Linked DNA regions of Homo sapiens: all the other regions are linked to region 1. Evidence: promoter capture Hi-C in 16 types of primary human blood cells and fetal thymus (Javierre and others, 2016). All regions are on one chromosome and are shown on one strand. Each heading gives the region's core, a stretch centred on a gene start or on the middle of the fragment in contact. The rest is flanking DNA. Distances are from core to core; before and after follow the strand shown.

Evidence for each region. The method cuts DNA at HindIII sites, captures the fragments that hold promoters and counts their contacts. A CHiCAGO score of 5 or more calls a contact.
Region 2: a contact is called between a fragment that was not itself captured here and the fragment with the promoter of CEACAM16-AS1 in region 1, in 1 of 17 cell types (total B cells). The highest score is 6.0, in total B cells.
Region 3: the fragment with the promoter of APOC1 here is called in contact with the fragment with the promoter of CEACAM16-AS1 in region 1 in 2 of 17 cell types (naive CD8 T cells and activated CD4 T cells); the score reaches 5.1 in naive CD8 T cells.

What each region holds. Positions count from the first base shown.
Region 1 is chr19:44,723,873-44,726,483 of GRCh38, reverse strand. CEACAM16-AS1 (CEACAM16, CEACAM19 and PVR antisense RNA 1) reads left to right here and starts at 1,301. Exons shown (of 2, transcript NR_186815.1): 1 at 1,301-1,647. The HindIII fragment of the contact is 7,565 bases long and covers 1-2,611 here.
Region 2 is chr19:44,951,358-44,953,968 of GRCh38, reverse strand. No RefSeq gene overlaps it. Among named protein-coding and RNA genes, the nearest start is that of CLPTM1, 2.7 kb to the left of the region's middle. The HindIII fragment of the contact is 829 bases long and covers 907-1,735 here.
Region 3 is chr19:44,913,324-44,915,934 of GRCh38, reverse strand. It overlaps APOC1 (apolipoprotein C1), which reads right to left and starts at 1,327. Exons shown (of 4, transcript NM_001645.5): 1 at 1,202-1,327; 2 at 986-1,063. The coding sequence starts at 1,043. RefSeq lists enhancers at 256-1,013, 1,014-1,773, 2,532-2,611 and a promoter at 1,188-2,314. The HindIII fragment of the contact is 4,871 bases long and covers 1-2,611 here.

The DNA.
Region 1 (2,611 bases), core at 52-2,551:
AGCTGAGACCTGAAGAGCATGGGGAAGTGTTTGAAGGAGGTGAACAAAAGGCTTTATTAGAAAACCAGAAAGGAGGCTGGGCGCGGTGGTGCATACCTGTAGTCCAAGCATTTTGGGAGGCTGAGGCGGGAGGATCGCTTGAGCCCAGGAGTTTAAGACCAGCCTGGGCAATGAGTGAGACCCTATCGCTAAAAAAAAAATTTAAAAATTTACCCAGGTGTGGTGGCATGTGCCTGTAGTCTCAGCTACTCAGGAGACTGAGGTGGGAGGATTGCTTGAGCCCAGGAGGTTGAGGCTGCAGTGAGCTATGATGGCACCACTGCATTCCAGCCTGGGGCCAGAGCAAGACCCTGTCTTAAAAAAAAAAAAAAAAAAAGAAAAAGAAAAGAAAAGAAAGAAAAAGAAAAAAAAATACAAGCAGTGAGTGGTCAGGCTGTGGCTGTGGCACAGCACTTGGCTTTCTCCTGGGGGCACTGGGGAGCCATGGCAGATTCTGACCAGGGGTCAGGGTTGGGTTTCCAAGGACGCCTCTGGGTGTGGTGCGGGCAGGGAGACCAGCTGTGCAGCAAGACACCAGGTGGCCTGGGTTAGGAGGTGGGTCAAAGAGGGAGGGGTGAAGGTTACCAATCATAGATTTAGGAGGCAATTTTCTTGGAAGGAAAGGGTGGGGTGCATGCTGGCTTGCTGGCGCCACTATCAGCCACTGTCCCAAGGTTTTCTTGTGCGTAAACTCATGGAGCGTTCACCACCACCCACTAGGTATCCTCATTGCACAGCTGGGGAAACTGAGGCTGAGAGAGACACACTCGCTGGCCCCAGATCTCACACAGCAGGTTATAGGAGCCAGCATTCAAACTCCTGGAGTCTGACTCCAGAGCTTGGACATTTTCACGCCCCTGACTCCTTAAAGCTGGAGAAGCTGAGGCTCCCAGTTGGGGTGAAGTTCCAGGTTCAAGACCACACAGCCGGGAACTAGAAAGGAAGGATTGAACCCACACCTTACCATGGGACACGGCCCTGCCCATCCCCTCTCCTCCCAGCAGCGTGAGGGCTCGACCTCCGGGGAGTCCCCGTTCTGGGTTGGGCGCCACTCCTCCCTCCCTATCCGCTTCGCGCCCGGAGCTCTCTCCGGACTTTAACCCTGGGCCGCCACTGGTGGCGACGCTGCCGATAAGGGGAGGTGGTTGGTGCAGAGGCCAGCAGGGCAAAATTCCCCTACTCCCGGTGCCAGGGGAGTTACCCAGGTCAGGGGCGGGGGCGGGGGAGGGCAGGGGCAGAGGAGCGGGCGGAGGGGGAGGTGGAGGCATCTGCAGCTGGACAGAGAAGTGGTGCTTTGTTTCTCTGTGCCTCAGTTTCCCTCTTGGTAAAATAGGCATGGTTCCTCCTATGGATGTAAGAAGGACCTAGGAACCTTTGCAAGGGCAGAGGAGTCCGCCCCTCTGGTCTGACTGGGAGACAAGGTGTTCCCCAATCTGATGGTGGGGACAAGGTGGCCCAACACAGTGGGAAAAATAAGGAAACTAAGGAGCTCTCACCAAATCCCATGAGGGAGACAGGACTGTCCAAATCCAATGAAGAAGATAAGAAGCTCCAGTCCTGTGCAGCAAGAACGAGTGTCCAGTCTATATTTCCAGTCTGCCAGGGGAGGTAAGGAGCAACATTCTGATGTGTAAGACAATGTATTTATTTTTGTGAGTCAGAGTCTCGCTCTGTCGCCCAGGCTGGAGTGCAGTGGTGTGATCTTGGCTCACTGCAACCTGTGCCTCCTGGGTTCAAGCGATTCTCCTGCCTCAGCCTCCTGAGTAGCTGGGATTACAGACGCACACCACCACGCCTGGCTAATTTGTTATTTTTAGTAGAGACCGGGTTTCACCGTGTTGGCCAGGTTTGTCTTGAATTTCTGACCTCAGGTGATCCTCCTGCCTCGGCCTCCCAAAGTGCTTGGATTACAGGCGGGAGCCACTGCACCTGGCCAGGAGTGATACTTTGATGTGTGAGACAATGCAGTTCTAATTTGATGGGGGAGATGGGTAGTCCTAGTCTGATGGGGGTGTTGAAGGGCTCCCATGCCTTCTGGGAGAGCTGATGAGCTTCCAAATGAATGATAGAAATGGGGAGCCCCTCAAACTGGTGGGGAGACAAAGAGCCTGCTAGTCTGATGAGGGAGGTAAGAATCTTCCTGTCTGAAGTGGGAGCCAGGGTGCTCCCGTCTGAGATTCCAAGGTGAGGAAAGAGACGAAGAACATACTCACTGCAGCTCAGCCAGCTCCTTCCTGAGCCTGGGAGTCAAATGGCCCCAGGATGCCTGGCCAGGGAGCCAGGACCAAAAGACAGAGACGATTTGCTCTCCTGACCCAGGGGCAGTTCTGCCCAGCTCTGGGCCTGATCTACTTTTGGCAAAAAAAGACCTGGCTGGTGGTGTACGGGCACCACCTAGCGGTTGCCATGGGCACGCCTTCCATCCGGAGCTTGGGGAGAGCAGCTCCTTGGAAGACCAGAGAAGGGCTCCTTGGACTCTCTCCCTGGGACCTGGGTCCAAGTACCAAACTACCCCTGAAACTGGATTCTGTGCATCATTCCATTCACCCTGCATGTGGCAGCTGGGGGAGTC
Region 2 (2,611 bases), core at 72-2,571, 230 kb before region 1:
CCTGGGCCTCATGCTTAAGTGGTCAATATTTGGAGCGCTGTGATTATGAACCTTATATATTACCTGGAAAAAGAGTAAGCTTTGCATTGGGATATTCTGAATATATAATTATCATTTTATTATCGGTTTCCTCCACTTTCCTCTAGGTCTCAGCCCTGTAACAGTAGCTCTCGCTCTAGGAAACTCTCTCTGAGCCCTTTTCCTATCCTCCCTTGCCCCCTCAGCTCCTCCACCCCATCCCTGCTCACTTTGTGTCATCACTGTCAGGGATGGGTGTGTCTCCCCAACTGGGCAGGCTGACCTGGGACTGTTGTGGTCACTGCTGTATCTCCAGCACTGCCCTGGGGATGATTGCCCTGGGGATGAGGCTCTCTAGGTGCAGAAGGTGAGTGACTTACCTCTCTGAGGGCTAACACAGGACAAGAAGGAACCTTAGAAAACTTCGCTCCTCAGCCAGGCGCGGTGGCTCACGCCTGTAATCCCAGCACTTTGGGAGGCCGAGGCAGGCGGATCACCTGAGGTCGGGAGTTCAAGACCAGCCTGGCCAACATTGTGAAACCCCGTCTCTACTAAAAATACAAAAATTAGCCGGGCATGGTGGCGGACGTCTGTAACTCCAGCTACTCGGGAGGCTGAGGCAGGAGAATTGCTTGAACCCGGGAGGCAGAGGTTGCAGTGAGCCAAGATCATGCCACTGAATTCCGGCCTGGGCAACAGAGCAAGACTCCACCTCCAAAAAAGAAGAAAGAAAAGAAAAAGAAAACTCAGTGCCTCATCCTCACTGTTACAGACAATAATGGTGTTAATAACGATTCTTTGAATGTGTAGGCCCAGTCTTTTAAGTCCAGGGATGAAGTGAATAGACTAAGACAGGGATTGAGGAGAGACTTTGTGGGGTCTGAAGCTTATGTGTTTTGTGGGCCTCTTTTTTTTTTTTTTTTTGAGATGGAGTCTTGCTCTGTCACCCAGGCTGGAGTGCAGTGGCATGATCTCAGCTCAATGCAAGCTCCGCCTCCTGGGTTCACACCATTCTCCTGTCTCAGCCTCCGGAGTAGCTGGGACTACAGGCGCCCACCACCACGCCCAGCTAATTTTTTGTATTTTTAGTAGAGACGGGGTTTCACCGTGTTAGCCAGGATGGTCTTGATCTCCTGACCTCGTGATCCGCCTGCCTCTGTCTCCCAAAGTGCTGGGAGTACAGGCATGAGCCACCGCGCCTGGCCTGGCCTCTTTTAAAAAGTACAAAATTGGCTGGGTGTGGTGGCTCACACTGTAATCCCAGCACTTTGGGAGGCAGAGGCTGGTGGATCACCTGAGGTCGGGAGTTCGAGACCAGCCTGACCAAAATGGAGAAACCCCATCTCTACTAAAAGTACAAAATTAGCTGGGCATGGTGGTACATGCCTGTAATCCCAGCTACTTGGGAGGCCAAGGCAGGAGAATCGCTTGAACCTGGGAAGCGGAGGTTGTGGTGAGCCGAGATCATGCCATCGCACTCCAGCCTGGGCAAGAAAAGGGAGACTCTGTCTTGAAAAAAAAAAAGTACAAAATGACTTGTACAAATTTAGGTAGAGGACCATGGAAAGCCCAGGCAAGTGAGGGGCTTTGAAACTTTCTCCAGCCTCACTGCAACCCCAACTGCGCTCTCAGCTATAAATACAAACTGCTGCAATCTGCTCTCCAAGTCTCATACACTGCAAGGGCCAATGTGTTGGAGCATGATGAGGTCTAAGCTTCTCATGAGAAGTGTGACCTTGGACAGGGCTCCTGTGGAGGCAGGTTCCCTGCAGAGCCTTCCTATGCTCTGTGGAGTGACCAAATAAATTCTGCCATTCCGTCCAGGCTTCGTGGCTCATGCCTGTAATCCTAGCACTCTGGGAGGCTGAGGCAGAAGGATCGCTTGAGCCTAGGAGTTTAAGACCAGCCTTGGTGACATAGCGAGATCCTAGCTCTACTAAAAATTAACAAAATTAGGTGGTGTGGTGGCATCCACCTGTGGTCCAGCTACTCTGAGGCTGAGGTGGGAGGGATGCCGGAGCCCAGGAGTTCGTTCGAGGTTGCAATTAGCTGTGATCACATTACTGCACTCCAGCCTGGGTGACAGAGTGAGACCCTGTCTCTAAAGAAATTAAAAATCATAATAAGTAAAAAATTCTGCCATTCCTGCTGTATGTAAGTCACAGGACAGACCCACTCTTCTCTCCACTAGGGGGCGCAAAATACTGATCAAGGGCTGTGATTTCAGGTTCTAAGGGAGAAAGGGGGCTGGGGATCCAACCTTCTAGGTCCTGAGGAGAAGGGACTGGGGGGTCCCAGACTCCTGAGTTCTAGGGGAAGAAGAATCTAGGGGCCTGGACTCTGGGGGCCCTGAGGGGAATGGGGTTCTGAGAAAGAAAGGAGGAGTCTGAGGCCAGCACCAGGATTGGTTGGAAGCCGAACTGGTCCGGGCAGTGCTTTGGCTTGGCTTGAGTCCGTGGGAACCAAGTGGACACAGCAGGGATTGTTACTCCAGGGTCTTCCCCTCCCCACCACCCCCTGCACTTGGCAGCCTCTGTTCTTCCCAGGCCCCGGGGACTCGGGGGCATTGCCCACAGTCCCTCTCCAGGGCCCC
Region 3 (2,611 bases), core at 78-2,577, 190 kb before region 1:
TGCAGTGGTATGATCTCGGCTCACTGCAACCTCCGCCTCCCGGGTTCAAGTGATTCTCCTGCCTCAGCCTCCCGAGTAGCTGGGCCTACAGGCGCGTGCCTCCACACCTGGCTAATTTTTTTGTATTTTTAGTAGAGACGAAGTTTCACCATGTTGGCCAGGCTGGTTTCGAACTCCTGACCTCAAGTGATCTGCCCGCCTCGGCCTCCCAAAGTGCTGGGATTACAGGCATGAGCCACCCTGCCCGGCCAAAAATTTGTTATTGGAACCCCCTTAGGTTGGGATACCGGGATGGATAGAGATCCTTGGGGATCATGTGGTTAGAATGGGGAGGAATGGCCGGACGCGGTGGCTCACGCCTGTAATCCCAGCACTTTGGGAGGTCGAGGCAGGCGGATCACAAAGTCAGGAGATCGAGACCACGGTGAAACCCTGTCTCTACTGAAAATACAAAAAATTAGCCGGGCGCGGTGGCGGGCGCCTGTAGTCCTGCTGAGGCAGGAGAATGGCGTGAACCAGGGAGGCGGAGCTTGCAGTGAGCCGAGATCGCGCCACTGCACTCCAGCCTCGGCGACAGAGCGAGACTCCGTCTCAAGAGAAAAAAAAAAAAAAAAAAAAAGAATGGGGAGGAATACTGGAGTGACCTGGTGGGGCTCAAGCTGCTGGGAATTGCCTTACTCAGCACTGACCTCTCCCAGAGCCCCCCACCCAGCTTACCCACTTTCAAGGCTGTCGAAGCAGGACAGCCAATCCCAGAGGTGTGGGCCTCAATACGTCATCGGTTGCTAGTGCTCTCCTGCGCAGATTTGGCGCCTGCGGGACTGAGCCTGGGAGAACCTGGAGACCCACCCGACCACGATGAGGCAACCACGACCCAGAAGGGGCCCCGGAGCTCTCAGAGGTCCTCTAAGCCGGGACCCCAGGCCTGTAGCCACCTTCACTCTTCCAAATCTCCAACTCCGCAATTCTCCCATCCCACTTTTACCTTCCAAGACGATCGACAGAACCACCACCAGGACCGGGAGCGACAGGAAGAGCCTCATGGCGAGGCCGGAGGGGCACTCTGGAGGCAGAGGCAGGGGTTCAGGGGATCAGTGGCACCCTCCTCCCTCCCTACCTCCCTCCCACGATCCCCTCATCTCCCTTTTTGAGTTTCTTGCAGAGTGTAGGCGGGTGTCCCTCCCAGGCACTCAGCACCAACCTGAATCCTTGCTGGAGGGCTTGGTTGGGAGGTCCTGTCCTGCCCGCAGGACCTTTATCAGGCTGGGGAGGGGGCGGGGCAGGTTGATGTTGATCTCCCTCCTCCTGAGCCTTCCCCTGACCGCCTGCCTCCCTCTGTCCACCCACGTTTTTCTCCTCTGCCCCTGTCCCGTGAGCGTTGGGGTCAGGTGGGGTCCCGGGCACTTCCCTTAGCCCCAAAGCCCCTCCCCGTTCAGCACTCTCACCTCTCAATCTTCCTGACTCTGTGGGGTCCTCAGACCACCTTAGTCCCTTTCCCCACTCAGAATGTAGCAGGAGGAGCCGCAGACAAAATTCCTCAGACGCTGAGTTAAGGAAGGGGTTTATTCGTTCGGGGAATGGGCAAGATTCCTGTCTCAAGAGCCGAGCTCCCCGAGTGAGCAATCCCTGTTCCTTTTAAGGGCTCACAACTCTAAGTGGGTGCACGTGAGAGGGTCGTGATCGATTGAACAAGCAGGGGATGCGTGACTGGGGGCTGCATGCACCGGTAATTAGATCGGAACAAAACAGAATAGGGATTTTCACAGTGCTTTTCTATACAATGTCTGTAATCTATAGATAACCTAACGGATTAGGTCAGGGGTCAATCTTTAACCACCAGGCCCAGGGTGTGGCGCGGGCTGTCTGCTTGTGGATTTCATTTCTGCCTTTTAGTTTTTACTTTTTCTTTCTTTGGAGGCAGAAATTGGGCATAAGACAATATGAGGGGTGGTCTCCTCCCTTAAGAAGACAGCCTTGTCCTGTCCCTGTGGCCATCTTCCCTCAGGGGTCTCCCAGTAATAACCCTGTGATCTCATCCCCCCCTCATTCACACCGTGTCCCTAGATCACCTCTTTCCCTCACTTCCCCTCTCTCAGCAAGCCTCCTCAGCCCCAACAACTTTTCCTTTATGTTGCTGGGTCTCCCAGTTGGCCCGGCGCTCCTACCCTGCGTGCCACCTCCAATTTATTCCAGACCAGCCCTTGAAGCACCCCAGACCACCGTGATATTCTCTGGGCTCTTAACTTCATGGTTCTCAGTCTCCCTTTTTTGGGAGGGGAACGGGTCGCCTTAGCTGGATGACACTGCAAAAACCTCACCTGCATTAGCCAGGCATGGTGGCTCATGCCTGTAATCCCAGCACTTTGGGAAGCTGAAGAGGGAGGATCACTTGAGCCTGGGAGTTCGAGACCAGCCTGGGCAATATAGGGAGACCTCATCTCTACAAAAAAGTTCAAAAATTAGCCGAGCGTGGTGGCGCATGCCTGTAGTCCCAGCTACTCAAGAGGCTGAGGTAGGAAGATTGCTTGAGCCCAGGAGTTCGAGGCTGCAGTGAGCTGTGATTGTGCCACTGCACTCCAGCCTGGTGGGACAGAGACCCCATCTCAAAAAA